7 separate regions of the Homo sapiens genome follow, and regions 1, 2, 3, 4, 5 and 7 are each linked to region 6. The links are contacts of gene promoters, found by promoter capture Hi-C in blood cells and fetal thymus (Javierre and others, 2016). All regions are on one chromosome and are shown on one strand. The core of a region is centred on a gene start or on the middle of the fragment in contact, and the rest is flanking DNA. Distances in the headings are between cores, read along the strand shown. Region 1 overlaps MMP8 (matrix metallopeptidase 8). Region 2 overlaps ANGPTL5 (angiopoietin like 5). Region 3 has its middle 6.9 kb from the start of MMP8. Region 4 has its middle 25 kb from the start of MMP8. Region 5 overlaps MMP10 (matrix metallopeptidase 10). Region 6 holds the start of BIRC2 (baculoviral IAP repeat containing 2). Region 7 overlaps MMP27 (matrix metallopeptidase 27).

Region 1 (3,554 bases), core at 589-3,088, 370 kb before region 6:
GGGTTGGGCCCCATCAGGACCACTAACTACTGTGTGAACCTGAGTGGGTTATTTGCTTTTCAGCCCTCAGTTTTCTCACCAACAAAATGAGACCACACTAGACTGTCGTTAGCATTCTTTCATCCTCATCCCAGATACAATTCTCTAAGACTCCTCAAGCTGTAATTTGGTTTCTGCATAAAAGTCACACAAACTAAGGCATCCAATTGTGGGGCCTTGAATGTCTTGCTCAGAAGTTTTTATTTTTTATAGGCTCTGGGGAACCATTAAGGCTCTCACAGCCCCCCTGAACTTAACTTTATCATCTTCATCTTTTAAAGACTATTTGTTCCATTTTCATATCTATGTGCAAGACCAAGAAGTGGTATATATATATATATATATATATATATATATATATATATATATAATTTTGTAAAAATGGAAAAGTCGTATTTAACACTTAACCTGAATCATTGACAGGCAACCAATACTGGGCTCTGAGTGGCTATGATATTCTGCAAGGTTATCCCAAGGATATATCAAACTATGGCTTCCCCAGCAGCGTCCAAGCAATTGACGCAGCTGTTTTCTACAGAAGTAAAACATACTTCTTTGTAAATGACCAATTCTGGAGGTAACGTAAACTATTTTTTCAATTATAGGTTGAAATCTGTGTTTCTCTACCCTGCTTACAAACCTTCAAGCATTTCAAGGTTTAAAACAATCTAGATAGTCTCTAATAGGTTTTACCGAGAATATATTCTTTTTTACAGGATGATTGATGTTACCATGGCTTTTGAAATTTTTCATTTCTATAAAATTAAAATGTCTATGCAATAGTATTGAGGATTCTGCATCAAGAAACAAAGAAAACCTTAACAAAGCACTAGGGTGAGATACAAAGAAAGATTTAAGCTAATTCTCACTTATGAGTTCAACTCAGACATATGCAAGCAAATGTTATCCAGATAGCCTGCAGAATTTGGTTCCCAAGTTGAACCTATTATGTATGTTTATATATCTATATACACACACAAGGGAGTTATACTATATACCAATTAAGTAAAAGCCTTGAAAATATAAGCTTACTTTGGGTAATAACAGTGTGTCAGCCATCAAGCCTGTTTTAGAATTAATGATAACCATATGTTTTATAAATGTGTACCCTTAGGTAGAGAAATTAACCATTCTTAATCCTAGTAAACAGGGCATTGTGAGAACTGAATGAAAAAATATGTGTGAGGAGACTTTGTAAATTATATACAATAAAAAAAATTTTTTTCGTTATATTCTGTATTGGTGTTAAATCGGATAACATTTTGTTTTTACCAGATATGATAACCAAAGACAATTCATGGAGCCAGGTTATCCCAAAAGCATATCAGGTGCCTTTCCAGGAATAGAGAGTAAAGTTGATGCAGTTTTCCAGCAAGAACGTAAGTAGGAAAAAAAAACCTAATAAATGTGTTGTTTGTTTGTTTATTATAGAGGAGACAGGGTCTTACTATGCTGACCAGGTTAGTGTCAAACTCCTGGCCTCAAGCAATCCTCCCACCTCAGCCTCCCAGAGTTCTGGGATTACAGGCATTAGCCACCGCACCTGGTGTTTAAATTTTTTAAATAGCATGTTTGCATTTGAATGTTATGTTGGAACAGGGGCAGGGTTTTCTAACTGAAGACATCTGAGATATTCTATAAGCTAATTCAATAAATTATCTCTCTTTTTTTATAGATTTCTTCCATGTCTTCAGTGGACCAAGATATTACGCATTTGATCTTATTGCTCAGAGAGTTACCAGAGTTGCAAGAGGCAATAAATGGCTTAACTGTAGATATGGCTGAAGCAAAATCAAATGTGGCTGTATCCACTTTCAGAATGTTGAAGGGAAGTTCAGCAAGCATTTTCGTTACATTGTGTCCTGCTTATACTTTTCTCAATATTAAGTCATTGTTTCCCATCACTGTATCCATTCTACCTGTCCTCCGTGAAAATATGTTTGGAATATTCCACTATTTGCAGAGGCTTATTCAGTTCTTACACATTCCATCTTACATTAGTGATTCCATCAAAGAGAAGGAAAGTAAGCCTTTTTGTCACCTCAATATTTACTATTTCAATACTTACATATCTGACTTCTAGGATTTATTGTTATATTACTTGCCTATCTGACTTCATACATCCCTCAGTTTCTTAAAATGTCCTATGTATATCTTCTACATGCAATTTAGAACTAGATTTTGGTTAGAAGTAAGGATTATAAACAACCTAGACAGTACCCTTGGCCTTTACAGAAAATATGGTGCTGTTTTCTACCCTTGGAAAGAAATGTAGATGATATGTTTCGTGGGTTGAATTGTGTCCCCCATAAAAGATATGTTGAAGTTCTAACCCCAGGTACCCATGAATGTGAGCTTACCAGGGTCTTTGCAGATGTAATTAGTTAAGTTAAGGTGAGATCACACTGAATTAGGGTGGGCTCTAAATCCATTATGACTGTTGTTCTTATAAGAAGAAGAGAGGCATAGTCACCTAGGGGAGGAGGCCGTATGAAGACAGAGGCAGAGATTGGAGTGACGCATCTCCAAGCCAAGGAATTCCAAGGACTGTAAGCCACCAGTAGAAGCTTTGAAGAGGCAAGGAAGGATTCCCTCCAATAGCCTTCAAGTGTGACCCTGCTGACACCTGCAGAATTCGGACTTCTATCCTCCAAAACCGTGAGGGAATAAATTTCCTTTGTTTTAAGCCACCAACTTTGCAATACTTTGTTACAGCAACCCTAGACATGAGGTACTAGACACAGTACATCTACACATATGAAAATGAATCAACACAGAATGCAGAAGTAGAACCCTTGCTAAGGACTACTGGGCATCTTCCCAGGACAGCAGCCAAAAGAGAACCACCACTTCCTCTCCTGCCTCCTCCTTGCTCTCTCCTAGAGTCCAAACCCAAATGGGCCAGTTGGATCTGATGTTCGTCAGTTCTTTACTTCTATTTCCTGGGGTACTCAGGAGGGCACACACTATAGATAACTTGGGTTAGCTGCATAAAATTCAATGTCTCATTAAGTTGCATTAAACTGAGCTTAGATGTGTAAGTTTGCTAACGGATGGGTTTTTTTGTTAAGAACTATAGGATTTATGGGACCAAGTCTAGCGAGTCCAGATATCAAAATCATTATAATGTTATATTTGCTGTTATTAGAATATAATATAGCTTATTATACAATAAATATGTAGACTGTAAAATATATTTCTCACTAGTACCTCCTATTTTCTTTCTCTGTTGAAGTTTTTAAATCCCACAGATAATTAAATTGGCACCTTTATGCTTGTTCAAAAATTAAAATAATCTATTAAATAAGTTCAAATTAAAGATTTTTACTTCAAATGACTGATTTGTGATTTGCTTTTAATTTCTTAAAATGTTACCACATAATTCATCTAAAGTATAAAAAGGAATAGCAAATTTTAGATGTTGTGCAGATATATAATGCTTGTGTCAGAATTATTATAATATTGATAATAAACTTTAGATATTGCTTCAGAGTGTGTGAAATATTTTATAAATA
Region 2 (3,774 bases), core at 77-2,576, 440 kb after region 6:
CATGTATTTAGAAATGTTGAAAATTGCTTTAATATTACTGTATTTAAACTGAGGAAACTATAAACTGAGGATTGATTCAACAGATATGAAAATATTTTGAAGACATTTCAGGCCTAGATTAAAAACTAGCCCACAACTTTTCAATGAAATATCTGATAGGTAGTAAAAAATCACTTTGCTTAAAAAAAAAGCTGTTCCACAAACTTTCATATTTCAAATATTGTCCTGTGAGTGGCTACCCAGGAAATTAAGAAATTGGTCCGTTTGATTTTATTTACTCATCAGGTTTATTTGTGGAAGTTTGAATTAAATAGCTTATATTTCTCTCTAATGATCAGCCTTGTCTTTCCTGAAATCTAAGCTTTTCTCTATAGTCTTTTTTATTATGTATTAGGTCATATAACATGTTTAATGTATTTTTTTCTTATTTCTATTTTTTAATATAAAGGACTCTTCAGTAGTTAACATTGTAGAAGATGGATCTAATGCAAAAGATGAAAGTAAAAGTAATGATACTGTTTGTAAGGAAGACTGTGAGGAATCATGTGATGTTAAAACTAAAATTACACGAGAAGAAAAACATTTCATGTGTAGTAAGTATTAAAAATAAACAAAATAATAAGAGTATATGATTCATTATTTTTAGGGTAGACACTGAAAAGTATACTTTAGCTTTTGTCTGGGTCATTTTCTATACATCCTGATCATCCTAGGCCAGAAGCTTTATTGTTTGGCCCATAATAGGTGCTTAATAAATATTTGGTAAATGAATGGATCCTTTCTCTATGTAGCTAATTCTGTGTGCAACAAAAGGGTCTCAGGCTTCTCAAACCAATGAGTGCAGCTTTAGACCTATTAAGACAGATGGCTAAATTCAGGAAAAAGCTAATAGAAAGTGACAGACTGAAAATAAGAAAGAGAGAGGAAGCAGAGTGAGGTAGAATTAAAAATATCAAGATTTTTTAATGTGATTCTACTGCTGGTGGAAAGAAAGTTAGAAAATAAAATTTTAAAGAATAACATACGTAATAGTGTGTGGGCCCTTTTGTTATAGGGGGCAACATTATTACTATCTTGGGTAAAACTCACATAGGGTCTGAGAAATATAGGTAGTGAATGTTTATTTCCTAATTTTGGTGGTATGTTATTAGAAATGTCTTTGGTGTAAGAAATATACACTGAAATAGCATGACGGTACATCATGGCAACATGGTCTCAAAGGCATTAGGAAAAAGTTATTTGTACTGTTATCGCAACTTCGCTATAAGAAATTTTCTCTTAAGATAAAAACATTTTTAAAAGGAAAATGTATAGTAAATGTTTAGTCAGAAACCAAATAACCAAAACCTTTGACTAACATTTATTATGTGTATGTATATGTATGTGCTAGCAATTTAATTGTGTAAATATAGTATTAATAGAAAAATTAAAACAAAGATGTACTTTTTAAAATTAACTTGCCTGGTATAAAACTGTCACCACTAACTTTCTTTTACAGTAAGAATTGATGAATCCTATAACTCCTGCCTCTATATATCTCATCTTATAAAGTGAGAATTTATAATCAGAACACTGTCTCTTAATGATAACAGATTAATTATTCTGGGTAATCTATATTAGTAGGAAGCATAGTTTCATTAAGAAGTATTGAGACAATCATTTCTGGGGTTAATCCTGAGTTAAACAAAAGATATACTAACTAAAATATGTAATTCTGAGTATTAAGATAAATTGAGATAGTATTGAGTTAACATACATATCCAAAATCAGGTAAAATTCACTATTTTTCACTGTAATTGTTTTCTGTAACAATATAATATTTAACAGCCACTTTTTATTATGGTTAAGGAAATTTGCAAAATTCTATTGTTTCCTACACAAGAAGTACCAAAAAACTACTAAGGAATATGATGGATGAGCAACAAGCTTCCTTGGATTATTTATCTAATCAGGTATAGATGTTTTAGTATTGTGTTGTTATTGCATGTACACGTTGATGTATAGTTAGCTGGAGGTATAATCTTTTTTTAAAATGCATTCATGTTCAGACATCTATTTAGCGCCTACCATGTTAGAGGCACCATAGTAAACTTTAGGCAAACAAAAAGCAGTAAAAAAATCGAACTTAATTCAAGGGGTATGGTCTAGTGGAGCATTAAAATGTGTTGACAAAAATGTGGTTGCTAGAATGGCACAAAAGAGAACTCTCAGATACAAAAAGCTTCCCAGAGGAGAAAGTCTGTTAACAGTCATGAAGGATGAATAAATGTTTTAAAAATCATAAAGGTTGGGTAAGGCGAAGAGGACATTCCATTCTGGGGAAACTTCTTGGTGTTGGTACAGGGTGGAGTGGCTGGTGAGGTTGAGTATTTAAGGAAAACTGACTATAGGAATAGGCAAGAACGAAGTCATACCACACCAAGGAGCCACTGTAGTGTTTAAGCAAGGAAATGCCACAATCTGATTAACTTGTGTGGCCAATGACTTGAGGAAGAGCCAAAGGAGGAGGTAAGAAACTACAGCAATGGTTTGGACAAGGTATGAAGGGCAGATGTGCAAGAGCAGCCAAATGCAGAAATCGGGGCAGATAAAATCAACGTTAAGGAGGTAGATACTACGAAATTTAATGATTGCTATTTAGCTTTGCCTTTATTCTTTGTTAAAGCAGTAAGAAATCAATCTAGAAAAATGGGCACCATTACGTATTTCAGAGCTGGGTTTATGAGAGGCTTAGAGATGGCAATTTCTTCAAATATAAATTTACTTAAATGTGTATGCATGTGTTTAGGTTAACGAGCTCATGAATAGAGTTCTCCTTTTGACTACAGAAGTTTTTAGAAAACAGCTGGATCCTTTTCCTCACAGACCTGTTCAGTCACATGGTGAGAACTTTGGTATTTCAGCCTTTTCATGTTTGTCTTTTATTGCTTAAAATTTTCCTGGACAGGTCGATCCATTTAAAAGTTTTATTTAAAAACTACAGCTCACCGTTCTCTAACAGACTGGAGGGCTAATACCTGCTATTAAGCAAATTTCACCATAGACAACGTGTACTTTCTTAAAATGGGAAACTTTTTCAACCATGTGAAAGCCATGGCTGTATAAAGATATCCTGAAGCTGTTGAAAATAACATAGCTTTCTATAGCTTTGTTCTGGACTCCCAGTTTATATCTTATTAATAATTCATCTTCAGATAGAAGAAAAGAAAGTTTCAAAGTTCCTCCCACCTGTAAAAAATGTTTTTGACATGTTTGAAATGTTTCAAATTGGGGCATAAAATTTGAAAAGAAAAAGAAATGTAAGACAAGAATAAACTGAAAGTTAGCACTTTTTATACTAAAATACAGCATATTAATTCCTAGAGGTTTGGACTTCTAAGAAAAATACCCTATAAATCTTATAAATATGAATTTATCCCCAAATGTTTAAAGCAAATAAATATTATTGAGGGCCTAGAACATGATCTTTATGTCCTTCTTCGAAAAAGAAGACAATAAACAGTGCCTAAAAATCTTCTATGTGATAGGTAGGAAGACAGGCACTTTCTCACATTATTTTGTTATTAAAATTATTTTATTATATCTCATAACTGCCCCAAAGCAGGCATAATGTGGTAGTCAGGAGCATGGACTCTGATGTCAGACTCCTTGGTTTCAAATTTCTTGCTTGCTGCTCTCTTGATATGTTTTCTCATCAGTAAACTGATAGTACCTACCTCTTACAGTTGATGTGAGGATTAAGTGAATAAATACAGGAAAGTCTCTTAAAATATT
Region 3 (3,777 bases), core at 335-2,834, 380 kb before region 6:
TAATGTGCTTAGGAACATTGTGACCACTGTGGAGTTTCTCATTCTGCATTCTCACCTAAAGCAAACTATTCATTTTAATGAGCTTTGGCCAAGTCTTTAATGTCCAGTTCTCCCACTAACCTACCTAGTTCAAAACCTGGGCTCATCCTTACTAAATGAGATAAATGGGATCTATTTGTTTTACATTCTTATTTCGAAGAAGACTGTTGATCTGACCGAACAGTTCACCCTCCGAATACCCCAGTGGACTTTGGCGCCCTCTGCTGGTTTTACAGGGGGCATGATGACCACTAGCATGGCTAAGAGTGACAGGTCTCAGCCATCCGTGACTTCATTGAAGGCCACTGGTTGCGTCTGCTATACACCAGCTTACTCTGGGAGCATTAAGCCATAGAAAAATATCTGGATGGAGACATTTCAAAATGTTAACATTGGTTACCTCTAGAAGAGGGGACTGAAGTAGGGGGAAAGGGGGTTAGAAAACTTCACATTTACTTACCGTACTTCTGAAAGTTTGGAATTTTTTTTTTAATAAGCATGTATTTTTGTATTACTAGACTATTTAAAAATAAGTGATTTTTAAAATAAAATAAATCGTTTGAACAACACTTTCTATATTGCTTTTCGTGCATTACCTCCTTAAAGCCCACGGCTTTGAAATAAGAACGTAAAACAATATAGCAATATAGAAAGTGCTCCTATCCTGTGAGGCTTTTTTTTATATTTAATTGCCAGAGAACTGTAATTTTTATCTGTTATTTTGCACTCTGTGTTAAACATTTTCTACACATCCATATTTAATCTTCACAACATTCCTATGATGTCAGGGCTATTGTTACCACCATTTTACACGCAAGGAATTAAAACTTAGGGATGTGAAGTGAACTGTGTCTAGGGTCCCACAGTAATAAGTGGCCAATTAGGGATGTGCAATTAAGACAGAGAGATGAAGGAACTTGTGCAAGGTCAAGCAAATGATAGAGTGGAGTCAAACCCAGGTCTTCGGATTTCCATTCCCCATGCTAAAGAGAAACAGGCTGTCTGTGAGTACCTCGGGCTTGTCACTTCAGGTTCCTCTGATGTTTGGTCCTGATGTATGAGGCAACCACATCTGTAGAATTTGGAGGAAGAAAGAGTCAGAAAGTTCCCATAATGACCTTAATGTGACATTTAAACTAAAGAAGCTACTCAGGCAGAAGGTCAACTCCAGTAGAAGACTTTGTGGAGACTGAACAGAAAGAGCCTTGGAATTAAACCAAACTTGGATTCCCAAATTCTGCCACACATTACACATCTGCCAGTGTGTGATCTCAGGTAATTCACTTAACCTTTCTGATCCTCAGTTTCTGTATTGCTTTTAAAAGACGTAATACCTAAGAAATTTACATAAAAGTGACTTTGCAAAAGCCTTTATGACAGTACCTCACTTCTAATGAGTATTCAGTAAATACTCACATATTCTTGGCATGGAAAGTCAAAATGGAGAACAGGGTGGGTGCAGGTTATCCTGGAGTTATAGGGCATGGTCTCCTAAAGGGCTTTTCAAATCACATGCAGACCACAGATCCTGAAGTGCCCTTCCCTGTGCAGTCAGTCTACACATTTACTGACTACCTCCATCTCTTCTCATTGAGAATTATTGCCTGTAACAGAAAGATCAATGGTCCCAAAAATGCCCACATCCTGACCCGTGAACATGTTAGCTTACATGGCAAAAGAGGTTTCACAGGTGTGATTTGGGTTAAGGACCTTGAAATGGGAGATTAGCATTATCTCAGTGGGTCCAATCAAATCACCTGAGTCCTCACAAGTGGAGACCCTCCCCCAACTGTGATCAGGGAGAGACAAGAAGATGGAATAAGGGTTAGAGAGAAGTGATATTGCTGGTTTTGAAGATGGCAGAGGTGGAAATACAGGCCAAGGGATGCAATAGCCTCTAGAAGCTGGAAACAACACAGAAACTGATTCTCCTCTATAGCTCCCAGAAGGAACACAGCACTGCTAACATATTGATTTTAGCCCAGTGAGACCCATACCAGACTTCTGACCTGCAGAATCGTAAGGCAATGAATTTATCTTGTTTTGAGCCATTGGACGTGTGGTTATATGTTACAGCAGCTGCGGAAAACTAATCCACTGCCCCTGACAAGCCAATGTCACCAAAGGGCATATGTGGTGTCTTTCTGATATTTTAGGTTAAAAAATAAATTCAGGTTGAGAACCATTGATCAAGAGGAGTGAGAACAGAATCTAGTGGGGACTATATAGATGTGAGACAGTTTATTGAGATGAATTCTCACAGACTCCAACAGGCGTATGTGGGTGACAGCTGGTTGGGCTCCAAGGGGGATGGGAGCCAGATGTGTGGTGTGAGGAGCAGGTGTGTGATGTGAGGAGGAGCAGGTGTGTGGTGTGAGGATTGGGTGTGTGGTGTGAGGAGGAGCAGGTGTGTGGTGTGAGGAGTGGGTGTGTGGTGTGAGGAGGAGCAGGTGTGTGGTGTGAGGAGTGGGTGCGTGGTGTGAAGAGGAGCAGGTGTGCGGTGTGAGGAGTGGGTGCGTGGTGTGAGGAGCGGGTGTGTGGTGTGAGGAGTGGGTGTGTGGTGTGAGGAGGAGCAGGTGTGTGGTGTGAGGAGTGGGTGTGTGGTGTGAGGAGAAGCAGGTGTGTGGTGTGAGAAAGAGCCGGTGTGTGGTGTGAGAAGGAGCGGGTTTGTGGTGTGAGGAGCGGTTGTGTGGTGTGAGGAGTGGATGTGTGGTGTGAGGAGGAGCGGGTGTGTGGTGTGAGGAGTGAGTGGTGTGAGGAGTGGGTGTGTGGTGTGAAGAGGAGCAGGTGTGTGGTGTGAGGATTGGGTGTGTAGTGTGAGGAAGAGCAGGTGTGTGGTGTGAGGATTGGGTGTGTAGTGTGAGGAAGAGCAGGTGTGTGGTGTGAGTAGTAGGTGTGTGGTGTGAGGAGGAGCGGGTGTGTGGTTTGAAGGAGTAGAGGCACTGACTGGGCTTCCAAGAAGTTTGACAGTGAGGGAAAGGAAACAGGATGGTAACTCAAGTGATTAATAGGGTAGAAAGAAGTCTGTTGTTTGGTTTTATTTTGTTTTACTAGAGAAACCATGTAGGCAAACAGGAAGCAGCCAGTGAGGGAAAGGAAATAGCGGGGGAATGTGTAAGGAGAATAGTTCTGGTGTGGAGATACAGAAAGAGTCCCATGGACACACTAAGAAATTGAATATTTTGGTGGTAAAAATGAGAGAAAACGAGGGCATTTACTTAAAGTGGGAAGTAATACCTTGCTATAGCTAGACATTGTTAGAAAATCAAGAATGGAGAAGATTTAGAAAAGACAGTGCCTCAGGAAAAATGAAAAATGAGGCATTCCAGCCACACAGCTGGATTGATTTAGTAGAAAAGAGAGTTTTGGCAAAATCCACTTCGCAGTTTCCTGCCTCTACATACACAGAGCGGCCTGGAATGGAAATGTTTACTTTTCTGCCATCTGTTCTCGTGGGTCTGTCAAACTAGTTTCTGGACAGTCGTTGACTCTCAATGGGTCATTTTCTCCATTCTTTCTTATCCTCAACACCCTCTAGTTGGGAGGACAATAGATACAGGGGCAGAAATGGAAATGTTTGGGGCTAATCAAAACCATAAGGATAAGATCCTCCATGCTCACTCTAGCTACTCTCTCACTTGCCTGGACCATGGCGGCTGCTCAGCAGGCCTTTTAATCAGCCTCATCTGTGGGTTGAATTCACTACCACGGCTTCTCTAAGTCTCCACTTCCTTCAGC
Region 4 (3,539 bases), core at 934-3,433, 400 kb before region 6:
GCTACCCCAGGGACGTCTACAGCTCCTTTGTCTTCCCTGAAAGGGTGAAGAAAATTGATGCTGCCATTTATGAGAAGGACACTGGAAAGACACATTTCTTTGTTGCCAATGAGTATTGGAGGTAAAGACCTACCCTCAGAAAACTTGGGAAATCAGATCACTCTGGTGGAAGGAGAGTTGCCTTTTAAAATTTTTCTCAAATTTCACTGAAACTTTCCTTTTTTCTGAGAATGAATGCAGCCAGGCCCACAGCCATTCAGTCCCCTACCTGTTATCACACTGCTGCCTAGCAAGGCAAGGAACTTGTTGGCTTGCATTTGAAAAGGAGATAAAGAGCAGAACACACAAAGGGGACTAGAGGCATCCAAAAAGGAGAAAATGAAGCATTTCTCCTTGATAGGACAGAACATGGAGCCCAAGGGAAAATTTGAATCAGATTTTTATGGTTGAGAATAACTTAGAGTTTGTCTAGTTTGCCCCACTCTCCCTCCCAGTTAAAATTTCTTAATAGTTTCATGCCAACAATGTACCCACCCATAATTTTTAAAAGCAGCCATCGGGGTTTTGCAAAATTGAGGCACAGACAGTACCTACCTCTCAGATTTGTTGTGAGAATTAAATGAATCTTCATATGAAAAGCACTTAGGACAGTGATTAGTACATGGAAAGTTCTACATGAAAGTTAAGTGTTTTTTATTGTTTTTATATTAACCACAATGTGATATTTTTAGTTATTTTTTGTTACCAGGTATGATGAAAATATGCAGTCCGTGGATGCAGGTTATCCCAAAATCATTGATGACCTCCCCGGAATTAGTAAAAAAAATTGACCTGTTTTGAAAAATAAAGGTAAAGACCATTCAATTTCCTCATTTCACTATCATAAAATTACACATTTAGTGTTACATAGATAAGACAGTAAACTGTGTACACAAAAATATGATATTTTCAAGAGTTCATGTGAAAAATCATTATCTAGTTTCTTTTATTTCTAGGTTTTTTCTATTTCTTTTGTAGAAGAAGGCAGTATGAATGTAATCCTAAAATGAAGCAAATTTTGACTCTCCTGAAAGCTAACATCTGGTTCAAGTGCAGAAATAACTGATGGTTGACTATCACCAAACAGAAAATAAAAAGTATTTTTAATGAGCCCAAAATATGTTCTTTTCTAAGAAACCAGGTATTTCAGTATTTTATTTCAGTCTCTTGGTAACACAAGGCAGAGACATAGAAATACAATCTTATTTAACTTCAATCTGAACATATTCTATGTTAGCTAGAATATATTGCTTCATGAACTTATATAAGTTAGTTTTAAGCAAGTACTAAGGGTTGTCAATCAAGGTCATCCTTAGGTTTTCACAGAAAAAAGCTTTTTACTAGAGTCCAAGACTCTGACTTTAACCTGAGCAGCTGCACATATGGGATGCATATCTCAATCCACCCAAGACAATAACAGCCCTCAGTTTCAACAAAGAAAAAACAGCGTAAAACTGTATCATCCTTACATGTACATGGCAACACTGTCACATATTAAAGAAAACAGACACTTAAACTTCGTATAAAAAATAAAGTGGCTGGGCACAGTGCCTCACGCCTGTAATCCCAGCACTTTGGGAAGCTGAGGCAGATAGATCACTTGAGGTCAGGAGTTCAAGACCAGCCTGGCCAAAATGATGAAACCCCATCTCTACTAACAAAAAATACACAAATTAGCCGGGTGTGGTGGCAGGCACCTGTAATCCCAGCTACTTGGGAGGCTGAGTCACAAGAATCACTTGAACCCAGGAGGTGAAGGTTGTAGTGAACCAAGATCGCGCCACTGCACTCCAGCCTGGGCAGTAGAGTGAGATTTAGTATATATATTTTAAAAAGGTAACTTTTATCAACATATAATATGAATACAGAAAAGCCATGTATCATAAGTATATAGCTGATGACTCTTCACAACACAACCAAGTAACCAGCACACAAAAGAAAATTGCCAGTATCCCCAAATCCCTTCTCCAGGTACTAAGCTTTCTAAGGGTAACTACTATCCTAACTTCTAATCTAATACCATAGATTAGCTTTATCTCTTTCAGTACTTAAAATAAATGGAATTATACATTATATACCTTAGTATCTGACTTCTGTCACTCAACATTATATTTATGAGATTCATCAATATATTTTTATGTAATTTTTGATCATTTATTCTCTTTGCTGTAGAGTTTCCATTGAGTGAATAATTTCCCACAATTTATCTCTCCAGTCTATGTTGAAGGACATATAAGTAGTTTCCAATTTGGGGCTATTACAAATAGTCTTCAGGGGAAGCAGAGCAAGATAGTTGAATAGAAGCTTCCAATAGTTGTCCTCACACCCCCGCAAGAACACAAAATTGAACAACTATTCACACAAAAAAGCAACTCCATAAGAACCCAAAATCGGGTGAGCAATCACACTACCTGGTTTTAACATCATATTAAGGAAAGAGGCACTGAAAAGGGTAGGAAAGACAGTCTTGAATGACCTACACCAGCCCTCTCCTATCCCCCTGCAGTGATCATATGGCATGAAGAGAGAATCTGCACTAGGGGAAGAGGGAGTGTACAGTGATTGTGAGACTTTGCATTGGAACTTAGTGTTGCCCTGTCATTAGTGTTGCAACACCAGGCAGAATTCAGTCAGCTCTTATGGAGGAAGAGAGAGAGAGAGAGAGAGAGAGACTCAATTTGGTGGGTAGGGGGGTGGGGGGGAAGTCAGGAAAGAGAAGAAGAGTCTCTGCCTGGTCATCCAGGGAATTCCTCTAGATCTTACCTAAGACTACCAAGCTGGTACATCTGTGGGTCTACAAGAGCCACAGGTTTACTGGGCTTGGGGTGCCCCCTAAAGCACATATGGCTGCTGTGACCAAAGACTTAGATCATAACAACCAAGTTGCTTGGAATACCTGGAAAGCCTTCCCAAAAAGGACAGGTACAAACAAGTCCAGACTAAAAAGACTATGATAAATACCTAACTCTTCAATGCCCAGACACTGATGAACATCTGTAAGCATCAGGATCACCCAGAAAAACACTACTTCACCAAACAAACTAAATAAGGCACCACAGACCAATCCTGGAGAGACAGAGATATGTGACCTTTCAGACAAAGAATTTAAAATTGCTCTTTTGAGGAAGCTCATCAAAATCCAGGATAACATGGAGAAGGAATTCAGAATCCTATCAAATAAATTTAACAAAGACATTGAAATAATTACGTGGAATCAAGCAAACATTCTGAAACTAAAAAATGCAATTGACATGCTGAAGAATGCATCAGAGTCTCTTAACAGCACAATTGATCAAGCTGAAGAAATAGTGAGTTTGAAGACAAGCTATTTGAAAATACACAGTCAGAGGAGACAAAAGAGAAAAGCATACGTACAAGATCTAGAAAATAACCTCAAAAGGGTAAATGAAAGAGTTATTGACTGTAAAGAGAAGGTAGAGAGAGAGAGATTAGAGTAGAAAGTTTATTCAAATGGATAATAACAGAGAATTTCCCAAACC
Region 5 (3,661 bases), core at 151-2,650, 430 kb before region 6:
ATAATGATCTCTTTTGCAGTTAAAGGTAATCAAATAAAGCATCCATTTATCTGGTGTATTCATCTGTTCAGACTGCTATAGCAAGTTACCTTAGACTGGGTAATTTATAAACAACAGAAATTTATTGCTCACAATTCTGGAGGCTGGGAAGTCCAAGATTAAGGTGCCAGCAGATTTAGTGTCTGATGAGAGCCTATTCCTCATAGATGGTACCTTCTGTGTCCTCACACGATAGAAAGGGCCAGGAGGTTCCCTCAAGCTTCTTTCATAAAAGCACTAATCTCATTCATGAGGGCAGAGCACTTACGACATAATCACTTCCTAAAGACCTAACCTCTTAATACTATATTTCATTGGGCATTGAGTTTCAACATATGAATTTGCAGCAGACACCAACATTCAGACTATAGAATCTACTGTTGTTTAATTGGAACAGGGTAAAAAGAAATTCTGAACACTTATATTTCCATTAATTTGTTCCCTATCAGAACATGGAGACTTTTACTCTTTTGATGGCCCAGGACACAGTTTGGCTCATGCCTACCCACCTGGACCTGGGCTTTATGGAGATATTCACTTTGATGATGATGAAAAATGGACAGAAGATGCATCAGGTGGGTCGTAAACCTCTCGGGAACATTTCAGGAATAATGTCCAATCCTACCCAAAAATAATTGGATTATCTAGAACGAGCAATAAATCGAATATACTAGTAACTGAATTTTTTTATTACCTGAGTTTTAAACAGAAGTACTGTTTGTTTCAATCATTATTGAAGAATTTTATAAAATGTCTGTATTTTCATGTTTGCCCCCACCAAGTACAATATTGTAAAAACCATTCAACCTCATCTCCACAACTCAGGATCTTGTGGGGGTTTGAGGATCAGCATAATTAATAATGTTTTTCATCACTTTAATGATAGATGATTAGGATAGAATGAATTCCATTAAACCAGTTCCAATCCTAACATTTGCCCTCAGGTTTTCTTTCTTTCTTCTCATTGGCCTCCTTTTTACTTAAAAGTAGAGATCAGGAGAAAATGCCAGGAACTGAAAAAAAACTGTTAGGTCATCTTTTCGAATAAACATGTCACTGTCTCTAGCTTAGATGGGTTTTTTTCGCCCTAAATTGGCTTGGAAACACTTTACATCTAAACATAATGACTAAAATTAACTGTATGCTATTTAATTTTTAAAATGGCTTCTGAAGTTTAGAAACACACTGTTGAAATAATCACTATTTCTGACAGTGCCTGGGATTTTTAATGTAAATGCAAAGAACATCTTTCCTGAGTACAAGACTCAGGAGGCTGAGGCACGAGAATCACTGAACCCAGGAGATGGAGGCTGCAGTGAGCCGAGATTGTACCACTGTACTCCAGCCTGGGCAACAGAGTGAGACTCTGTCTCACGAGACTGAAGTTTGTGTTGCATGAAATGATTGCCTTTTATTTGAACAACTGTTCTTTTCTGCACAATTCTTGGAGCCTTGGTTAAATAATATCTACTACTAAATTCAATAAAACCCTTTTTATAATATTTTTAAAAAGCTGAATCTAGCTGTGTTTGTGCTGCAGAAAACTGTTATTGGGCATGTTTCTGTTTTAAACTAAAGATTGTACACATCCAATGGCACCTATTACTGGGAAGATTTTTGACAATCAAAAATTATTTGATTATGGCCAGGCACCAGTGGCTAATGCCTGTAATCCCAGCATTTTGGGAGGCCAAGTTGGGTGAATCACTTGAGACCAGGAGTTTGAGACCAGCCTAGCCAACATGGTGAAACCTTATCTCAACAAAAATACAAAAATTAGCCGGGCATGGTAGCACGTGCCTGTAATCACAGCTACTCAGGAGGCTGAGGCACGAGAATCGCTTGGACACATACTCCAGCCTGGGCGACAGAATGAGACTCTGTCTCAAAAAAAAAAATTACTTGAGTATGATGAAGAGGAGGAAGAGAAAATCAGACTAAACCCCACAAGAAATAACCACAGTCTTCTGGCTTAAAAGTTTGAACGTAAATGTTATATGATTAATTTTAACCAAGGTTGCAACTGGCAAGTGTTCCTAAATTTGAACAATGACTTTTTATTTTTAGACAACGAAGAGTTATATTTACTGACATGCTATTAGTCTTGTCCTTTCAAAAAAAAATCTTTTGAAAATAATGCTTCTCATTTGTCAATATAGGAAAAGTGTCTTAGTTTTCCTGACCAAGGAGGGATCTAGGGAGGGATACGGTGAAAAACTGTCTTATATATTGACTTAAAGTCAACCTTGAAAAACACATTAATTTCTATAAAGTATGGAATGTGCCAATCAATGAACCAATCCACAAATACTGAAAAGACATTGTGGTTTCAAGGATGGCCTGTACAGCTGGCATATGTTCTGTATGTGTATTTATGGAAGAAAGAGCTGGTGAATTCTGAACATTTATGATTTTCATACAGGCACCAATTTATTCCTCGTTGCTGCTCATGAACTTGGCCACTCCCTGGGGCTCTTTCACTCAGCCAACACTGAAGCTTTGATGTACCCACTCTACAACTCATTCACAGAGCTCGCCCAGTTCCGCCTTTCGCAAGATGATGTGAATGGCATTCAGTCTCTCTACGGTGAGTGATGCTGGAAAAATTAGGCATTGCAGATCTACAATGACAGTCCTCCAGAAAGCTTTCCAGTGCTACCTAAAGTATTTCTGATTTGGCCTGAAGCACTTTGAGAATGTTTGAAAGGCACACAAATTGACAGATGCATCACATTTTTTTTTAATGTTTGCATCCCCAAATCTGTTTCCTTTAGGACCTCCCCCTGCCTCTACTGAGGAACCCCTGGTGCCCACAAAATCTGTTCCTTCGGGATCTGAGATGCCAGCCAAGTGTGATCCTGCTTTGTCCTTCGATGCCATCAGCACTCTGAGGGGAGAATATCTGTTCTTTAAAGACAGGTCAGACCAGAAAATTATATTTTCCTATCTATTCTTTTGATGTACAGTGCTTAGAAAGAAAAACAGAAACTTGACAGAGCTTTTTTTTTAATTTTAGGTTCAGGGGTACATGTGCAGGTTTGTTATATAGATAAACTCGTGTCACAGGGGTTTGTTGTACAGATAATTTTGTCACCCCAGTACTAATCCTAGTACCCAGTAGTTACTTTTTCTGCTTGACAGAGATTTTTTAAAATATAAAATTTCCTCTACATTTTAAAATCATTCAGATCTAGTTCTTGCTGAATTTTTAACATCTTCTTAGAATTGTCCAGATCATTTTTTACAGACTTATAAGGGATGATTCTTGGTCCCTAGACTGTAAGTTTGATTAAGGCAGGGAGTTATATCTGTTTCGTTCATTTTTTTAAAATATCATATATCATGGAACTTCTTCAGAAAGCACTGGTGGATCCTTAGAAGCAGGGTGGTATCTTTCCATTTACTAATATATGCTACTATTTAAATTAATTACTTTTGGAAAAAAGTGATATGTGCTTGTGGCACAATATTTAAACACTACCAAAAGATACGGAGTTAAAAAATCTCTCTCCAGTCTTTGGCCTACCGTCCTCCAGCTCCCTTCATATGTGCAACCACTGCTACCAATTTCCTTTGACTCTTTACAAAAATGTTCTACTCATATACAAGCATCAATATACAC
Region 6 (3,457 bases), core at 523-3,022:
AATTTCCACAGCACACTTTTTACACTGCATTTAAAAACTAAATAACCTGTTCATCATTTAAGGACTATTCAGCTATAATTATCAGTCATGTTGTAAACATTAATCAATTTATCACAAGATAAAACTTGTCCTTTCTAGTGTTATCAGAAACGCCTAACAAAATATTGTACTACCAAAAAAGTACTGCTTAGCATAAAGTATCAGTAATCAACTCTACTAGCCTTCTTTCTGAAAACTCTTCAATGTTTTAAAAATATAATTCATACACAAAATTACACTCCATAGAATTCAAACTATATCCCTTTATAAAGTTTCGAGATCTCCATAATGGGATTTATTACTGCAGGGGGACAAAATAGGGATAGGGAGATTCTTCAGGGTTGTAAATCTGAAAAGAAAAAACAAAAAGTATTTTAGAAAACTGTATGTGCATGCCAAATAGAACTTACATACTCTTCAATTTATTCAGTAAAGTCTAAGAATAATTCACACTTTAGATAATACATCTTAATTCCAGCAATTTGTCACAACTTTCTAAATGAAAAAGCTATTAATTAAAATAAGTAAATGCAACATACTCCCCATAGCACTAACTATACGTGTCTTTAAAACGCACAACTTCAGAGACAGATGGAAATTTTCACACAGGAAACATTTTGTCCTTGCTCTCCTCCCCTTTTCTGGCCTAAAGGTAACTCTGGCACTCTGCTGGAGGCAAAGGCACATTGGTTAAAAAGACAGACAGACACTCCACTACACCCTGTCAGCAGCAGTACAGCAGGAATTAAGACAGCAACGTTAGTTTGTAATATCAAGTCTCTCCACGACTAGGAAAACTGCAGTAAAATGCACCACGAGTTCATTAATATAAACTCTTAAACTCTGCCATTCCCTTACAATTTCAAAGCAACGACCACAGAAAGCAACTCGAAAACAAAACCTAACACAGTGGCCTGTGAAACAGTGGCTCCGGCACTACGACCACTGGCATGATTGCTTTAATTACACCCGGTCTTATATCCTATCTTTAAATGAAAGATTTTTATCTACGTGCACCGCACTGCTGCATTCTCTTTACGCAAATTGCAGCTGGGCAGGGGATAGGATGGAAGGGAAAAGAATAGAAACTATGGGATTTACCCAATAATTTCCCAGAGTTGCTTCTCACAATACACAACAGACGACTACTGGAATGACAGAGCGCAGTGGCAACTATGAAATATGAAATATCGCCGCCACCGAAATATCTTCGTTTCAATGTATTACATTAAAAGAACGCCGAGGGCTAAGTTTAAAACCTTGCAAAAACTGCGAGAAAACATCTTGGTCAAAGTCCAAGGGCCAGAAGAGTGGGCGGCGGCCAGAGGCTTGAAAACAAGTCATTTTAAAAATCGCTTTGACTGCAAGTCTCGAAGTTGGGGCTTCCGAATCCAATAAAACCTTGGCGAGAGTAGAAAGCAGAGAGCCCCCGGCGACCCTCGACCCTTGGCCGAAGGGCCTCAGGCCCCGTCCTTCCTCGTTCGCCGCCACATCAGGGAAGTGGGCCCCCGCGGGCCCTCGCGTCCCCACCCGCCCCACGCCGCCCGAGCCCGGAAGGAGCAGCACTCACCGCAGTGCGGGCGCAGCAAACACGGAAGCTGCGCGGCTGCCTAGAGGCCTCCGCAGAGCCGGGAATCAGCGGCGCCGACAAGGAGATACGGCCCGCTCGGCTCGGATCAGCCCGGGCGCTCCCGAAGCCCGCCGCCCCATCCGGGCTCACTCTGACGCACGATGACGTCAGCGCGCCCGGCCGAGGACCAGCGTTAGCCGCCGCGCGAGGGCGCCCGGGAGGCTGGGGCCGGAAAGCGGAACCGAGAGCGCTTTCCGCCGTGCGGCGATGAACCTCCGGGAAAGACGCTGGGAGGCCAGGATGCCCGGCGCAACTGGACGCTCATCGGGAGTCACGGGGTCGGCCCTCAGGGGAACGGGGACTATCCGTATCAACTCGGTGTTTGTTCGTTTTCTTCACCTTGCGGTTTGTGCCCTCTCCACATTTCCTCTCTGTGTCTACCATTCTCCTGGGGGACGTGGCAAACCGTGAGCCGCTGCGTTTGAGTTTTGGGAAACCCTGCGGAAACGCCCTGGCGCCGGTGGTTTTGCGCGTCCTACCCTGTGTCACCTCAGGGTTATGATCTGGCCCCTGGCAAGGCTCCCCAAGTGTGATGCCTCCCCCCGTCCAGATGACTGCATTTTGAGGATGGAGTCAGTCTGGTGGCATTTTTTGCTTAAGTAAACAATTGTAACCGTTTGTGTAGCATCAGCGTTCAACAGCTGCCTGTGCAAATCGAAAAAAGCGAAACTTTGGAAACTAGGAAGCATCAGATGAATAATTCTGAAGACTTGATGTCAACGGGAGTATCTTGTTTTTAAACTTTTGGTTTTCTGTTCTGGAGACAAACAGTTCATATGCACTAAAGAAAAAAGTGTCATTATTTCAGATGCTCATTGCCAGCAAAGAGAACTGTATTGCAAGTCAGGCTTCACTCCCAGTATTTTCTGAATGTTTCAATAAAATGAAATATATACGTCTGCCTGTGTATTGGTGTACATGCACATATAATTGTACATAAACCAGAGAGGAGCCCAATTTTTTTTAATGCTTAGGTAATAGAAAATTTGTAAATAAAAACCCTTGGCTTTTGCTAGTCATGGACCTTTTGTATCCCCCCGCCATACTCCCCCAATAGTGCCATAGACACAGTGTCGTGCAGTAAATGTTTGTGGTATGACAACCAACGAACGACTTTTGAAGTTGACGCTCTTTGCCCGTTGAATCCGATGCTTGCTTCTCTCTGGGGAACTCCAAGGGGCAAATATTTAAAAAACTTCCAAATAGCAAGCCACTTAATTAGGGAGCCGGGGGAATTCCAAGACCCTGAACCATTTCCCATTTCCTGTCTGTGTCATTTCTGCCTGCCAGTCAGTCACAGAACAGGAGGTCTACTGTTCCAATGTTAATAGTCAAAGAAAGTGAGTGTAACAGTTTGTAATACAGAGAAAAGAAATGCCATGGCTCCCAATGACTAAAAACTTCCAAAAATGCACCTGGGGCTTGGTAGTAGTTTAGTATTTAGTTCAAGTCACTATTTCTCGGAAGGTTTACAGAACATTCCTAACACATGTGGGAAAATATATATAGCAAGAATTGTTCATTCTGAACTCAAGATTATTTCTCTTTTTCAGTTCTTGTCCTGACCAAAGCAGTAAGATAATGAATATACTTAAGTATAGGGGAAAGCTTGCATTTCAAAAACTCAAAAGCCTTAGATATTTTTAACAAAAAATATTTGTAATATTTACATATAATAAATAGTACCTCATAACTTTTAATCTTGTATAACTTTGTAGTCTAGTGTTACAGCTAGTTAATTCAGTTACCTGTTTATTCAGTTAATTTTTTTTCATTTTGCTAGTATAA
Region 7 (3,902 bases), core at 586-3,085, 350 kb before region 6:
ACAGGAGTCTATTGTTAAATTTTCAGGAATTTTGCAAACCAGTTCACATCACATAGGCAGCTTGAAATTGGCCATGGTTGGAGTATTTACATCTGAAAATCAGCAAATGATTAAAGTCATGTCTTCTTCCCACCTGGAGAGCCAGTTGTTAAACATGGGTCAGCACCTCACTGAACGTTTCTTAAAGTTGCATCAATAAAGTGTTAGCTGTAGTGGGAAATCCCTTCTCTCACTACAATTTATTGAACTTAAGTTACAGCATGGTGTGTCAGTTATGTAGACCATGACCATATTTTTATAGCAAAATACCAAGACATACACCATTGACAAAGATATAGGGGCAAAAGGAAAGAATATTTGAAATTGGACTCCTTTCACCCATGAATATATCGCGTTACAATCACATGTTATCACCACCATTCTCTGACCAGCAGAGGCCAAGAGCTACCCACCATGAATGTCACAGAGGAGTGGCCTGTATGTGGAGGGAAATGGAATATAAGGACTTTTCACGTCTCATTCATAGACTCAGAATTTTGCAGCCAGAAGGGAAATTCTGAAGAAGTATTTTCGCATGTCAGTGATTACATTTCTTTATTCCAGCAAGCATCTGCTTCAAAAAGTTCCTCTTAGGAATGCTTGGTGTTGGCTTAGAATGTTGGGTGTTGCTGCTTTGGCAAAAACAAAACCATTGAGCACTCAGAACTCAGAATAAGATTTCCATGATGAGTTTGCCACTCTACGGATCCAAGAGTGGGCACAAAGGCATGTCCTGGACTTGGAAGTCCCAAACTGAACTGAACTCACAATCACCTAAATTTACTGGGGAAAATTATGCTAATTATCTCAATTATTTGAGGAAGATACCAACCAATTAGCTAAAAGGCAAGCCTAAGATTACAAAATTCTCATTGACATGGAAATAGGCTGCATGTGTAAAGTGTTTTTTGTTTAACACAGGCACCTATGGAGGATCTATTATGATATCACGGATGTTGAGTTTGAATTAATTGCTTCATTCTGGCCATCTCTGCCAGCTGATCTGCAAGCTGCATACGAGAACCCCAGAGATAAGATTCTGGTTTTTAAAGGTAACCTGGCCCATCCCGATTCCTCTTCTCCCTCTGGCTGCCTGAACTAACCAGTGGATATTTTGGTGTAAGAAATAAAATCTTCATGCATGAGCCAAGGCGCAGGGCTTTTGCTCTCATCTTAGGTTCCTGTCGTAAAGAATATAAATAACCAGGATTCTCTGTGGCTGTGAAGATAAACACAATCCTAGTTGCACAGGGACTAAAATAAACCTGTGTGATAAAAACTAAAAAAGTCTCTTTTTCTGCCAAATAAAGGTAATTAATCTGTCTTTAATGTTCACTTTTTACTAAGGTTGCCAGATTTGGCAAATAAAAATATAGGACACTATAAATTTCAGATAAACAACAAATAATTTTTTGGTATATATATATATCCCTTAAAATATTTTGTATTTATTTATACCAAAAGTTAGTCATTGTTTACTTGAAATCAAATTTAACTGACATTTTCTGTTTAATGATCATGATCTTATCAGATTACTAGCCTTTGAGAGCACTTGGGGGCTGAAACTTAGGAGAACATGTCCAAACATACTTCATTTTAAAAATTTCAATTGACATAATAATTGTACATATTTATGGGGTACAATGTGATGTTTAAATACATATATGCATTGCTTACTTGATTGTTTTGACAGAGTTAGCCAATTAAAAGCAATCAATGCAATGAAACCAATTGACAAAGGTACGCATACTATTGACTTTTACAGGTATATATTATTTGTGTAATATAAATAATATGAGCAGCTAAAGAAAGTGGTAGGAATGAATGTGGACATAAGATTATTAAATCTCTAAGCACTGAAGCTAAAAGGAACTAGGTATCTAATGATTTTTAAATTTCTTGAGATACCTATTTCTCCCTCTAGAAAATAAATAATCACTCCTCTCTTCCTAGATGAAAACTTCTGGATGATCAGAGGATATGCTGTCTTGCCAGATTATCCCAAATCCATCCATACATTAGGTTTTCCAGGACGTGTGAAGAAAATAGATGCAGCCGTCTGTGATAAGACCACAAGAAAAACCTACTTCTTTGTGGGCATTTGGTGCTGGAGGTAAGTTTACAGACAATTGACACTTTGTTTTATTATGGAGAAAAATATTCACAATAGCATCACTTTGACACAGACAAAATTAAAATGAATCCATAATATTTTTTATTTTTTTATTTTTTTTGAGATGGAGTCTTGCTCTGTCTCCCAGGCTAGAGTGTAGTGCTGCAATCTCTGCTCACTGCAGCCTCGACCTCCTGCTTTCAAGAGATCCTCCTGTCTCAGCAACCCCCAAGTAACTGATACTACAGGCATGTGCCACCACGCCTGGCTAATTTTTGTACTTTTTGTAGAGATGGAGTTTCACCATGATTCTCAGTCTGGTCTCGAACTCCTGGGCTCAAGCGATCCACCCACCTCGGCCTCTCAAAGTGCTGGGATTACAGGCATGAGTCGCCACGCCCAGCCCATAGTCTTCTTAAAGTGAATAATGAAGGCAGTGGATGACATTTATCAAGCCGAAAGAGATCTCAATGAGTCTAATGACTTTCCTTCAATTTAAAAAAAAAGATAAGATAAAATAAAAAGTTGGTGATCCCAACCAAATTGCCAATGACACAAACATATCTAGTGAAAAATTTTGAAAGCTCCAAGCTCAGCCTTCAATCTGATGTAACGATTTCTCTGAATAGCATCAATCTAACATATGTTGTGCCCTTTTTCCCTGATCATTTCTTGTTTGGAAGATTCTATAAATGATTCAACCAAACATAATCTTTACTGTATTTTTATTATTGATCCAATTAGTTTTCCTCTACTATGCCTATGTATTCCCCACATCCCTGCTTGACTCTAAGTTGTGCGGTAGACAAATTAAGCTCCCCAAACCAAAGATCCGCTGGTATCCTTTCATATTCTTGTATGCAGGTTTGATGAAATGACCCAAACCATGGACAAAGGGTTCCCGCAGAGAGTGGTAAAACACTTTCCTGGAATCAGTATCCGTGTTGATGCTGCTTTCCAGTACAAAGGTAAGCATGGATGTCTCACTTATTGGGATACTTGAGAGACTGTGTTGACTGTGAAAAAAGACAGCACAAAAACTTAAATGCTTTTATTTTAATGCAATTTTGCTACTCTTAAGTATATACAATAATAAACATTAACCCCACAAACATTATCACAAACTGAATCCATAAATCCTGAATTATACTCTCTGTTATACTATCTCAAATCTATGTAAAAAGTACCAAATCCATTTTACTCATCATTGATAAGTAAAGACACCCCCTAAAGTGTGCGAAGTGACTAAGCACATGAACAAAACAATGATTCTCAAACTTTAATGTATGTACCTTAATGTACATAGCTTGGGGTTTGTGTGTGAAACAAAGTATTTGAGGCAGAATTGTGAGTGATACCTAAGAATCTGCAGTTTTAAAAGAACCTCAGGCAATGTAATGAATACAATCCAGCAACTATATCATCCAAGACAATGACCTAGACCATGGGGTAATCTAGAAATATCTTTGAGTGACATGATCTATTATTACAATGAAATCTAACACAGAACCTCAAAACCTAAAACAGATCAAAGTAGAACGGCTCTAAGAAAATGAGAATATAGAGACCAAGGCCATATCCACAGGGGCCTTTTCCTCCCCCTCACTGAGACACTTTGTTGAAGCCTAGTTTGAAAACCTCTGGCATAGACCACAGTCTGGCTAGAAAGGTAAAAAGTCCCTTGAAACTCACCCTTTATAACACTGGCTTCCTCCTTAGGGAAATAAAAATAATAGGATTTCCCACATGA

Evidence for each region. The method cuts DNA at HindIII sites, captures the fragments that hold promoters and counts their contacts. A CHiCAGO score of 5 or more calls a contact.
Region 1: a contact is called between a fragment that was not itself captured here and the fragment with the promoter of BIRC2 in region 6, in 5 of 17 cell types (M0 macrophages, M1 macrophages, M2 macrophages and 2 more). The highest score is 21.9, in M0 macrophages.
Region 2: a contact is called between a fragment that was not itself captured here and the fragment with the promoter of BIRC2 in region 6, in 1 of 17 cell types (total B cells). The highest score is 5.6, in total B cells.
Region 3: a contact is called between a fragment that was not itself captured here and the fragment with the promoter of BIRC2 in region 6, in 5 of 17 cell types (M1 macrophages, M0 macrophages, M2 macrophages and 2 more). The highest score is 18.2, in M1 macrophages.
Region 4: a fragment that was not itself captured here is called in contact with the fragment with the promoter of BIRC2 in region 6 in 3 of 17 cell types (M1 macrophages, M0 macrophages and M2 macrophages); the score reaches 8.7 in M1 macrophages.
Region 5: a fragment that was not itself captured here is called in contact with the fragment with the promoter of BIRC2 in region 6 in 4 of 17 cell types (M0 macrophages, M2 macrophages, monocytes and 1 more); the score reaches 8.7 in M0 macrophages.
Region 7: a fragment that was not itself captured here is called in contact with the fragment with the promoter of BIRC2 in region 6 in 4 of 17 cell types (M1 macrophages, M0 macrophages, M2 macrophages and 1 more); the score reaches 13.2 in M1 macrophages.

What each region holds. Positions count from the first base shown.
Region 1 is chr11:102,711,618-102,715,171 of GRCh38, reverse strand. MMP8 (matrix metallopeptidase 8) reads left to right here. Exons shown (of 10, transcript NM_002424.3): 8 at 463-616; 9 at 1,315-1,418; 10 at 1,715-3,376. The coding sequence ends at 1,824. Among named protein-coding and RNA genes, the nearest start is that of MMP27, 7.6 kb to the right of the region's middle. The HindIII fragment of the contact is 1,540 bases long and covers 1,069-2,608 here.
Region 2 is chr11:101,903,922-101,907,695 of GRCh38, reverse strand. It overlaps ANGPTL5 (angiopoietin like 5), which reads left to right. Exons shown (of 9, transcript NM_178127.5): 3 at 449-593; 4 at 1,849-1,952; 5 at 2,789-2,882. Among named protein-coding and RNA genes, the nearest start is that of CEP126, 9.2 kb to the left of the region's middle. The HindIII fragment of the contact is 1,205 bases long and covers 724-1,928 here.
Region 3 is chr11:102,729,944-102,733,720 of GRCh38, reverse strand. No RefSeq gene overlaps it. Among named protein-coding and RNA genes, the nearest start is that of MMP8, 6.9 kb to the right of the region's middle. RefSeq lists silencers at 176-225, 346-395. The HindIII fragment of the contact is 7,810 bases long and covers 1-3,777 here.
Region 4 is chr11:102,748,633-102,752,171 of GRCh38, reverse strand. No RefSeq gene overlaps it. Among named protein-coding and RNA genes, the nearest start is that of MMP8, 25 kb to the right of the region's middle. The HindIII fragment of the contact is 325 bases long and covers 2,021-2,345 here.
Region 5 is chr11:102,775,577-102,779,237 of GRCh38, reverse strand. MMP10 (matrix metallopeptidase 10) reads left to right here. Exons shown (of 10, transcript NM_002425.3): 3 at 1-25; 4 at 489-614; 5 at 2,462-2,626; 6 at 2,814-2,958. Among named protein-coding and RNA genes, the nearest start is that of MMP10, 3.2 kb to the left of the region's middle. The HindIII fragment of the contact is 2,277 bases long and covers 262-2,538 here.
Region 6 is chr11:102,345,529-102,348,985 of GRCh38, reverse strand. It overlaps BIRC2 (baculoviral IAP repeat containing 2), which reads right to left and starts at 1,772. Exons shown (of 9, transcript NM_001166.5): 1 at 1,610-1,772; 2 at 1-388. RefSeq lists an enhancer at 1,151-1,220. The HindIII fragment of the contact is 3,484 bases long and covers 1-3,279 here.
Region 7 is chr11:102,692,156-102,696,057 of GRCh38, reverse strand. MMP27 (matrix metallopeptidase 27) reads left to right here. Exons shown (of 10, transcript NM_022122.3): 7 at 961-1,091; 8 at 1,993-2,152; 9 at 3,017-3,120. Among named protein-coding and RNA genes, the nearest start is that of MMP27, 12 kb to the left of the region's middle. The HindIII fragment of the contact is 4,808 bases long and covers 1-3,902 here.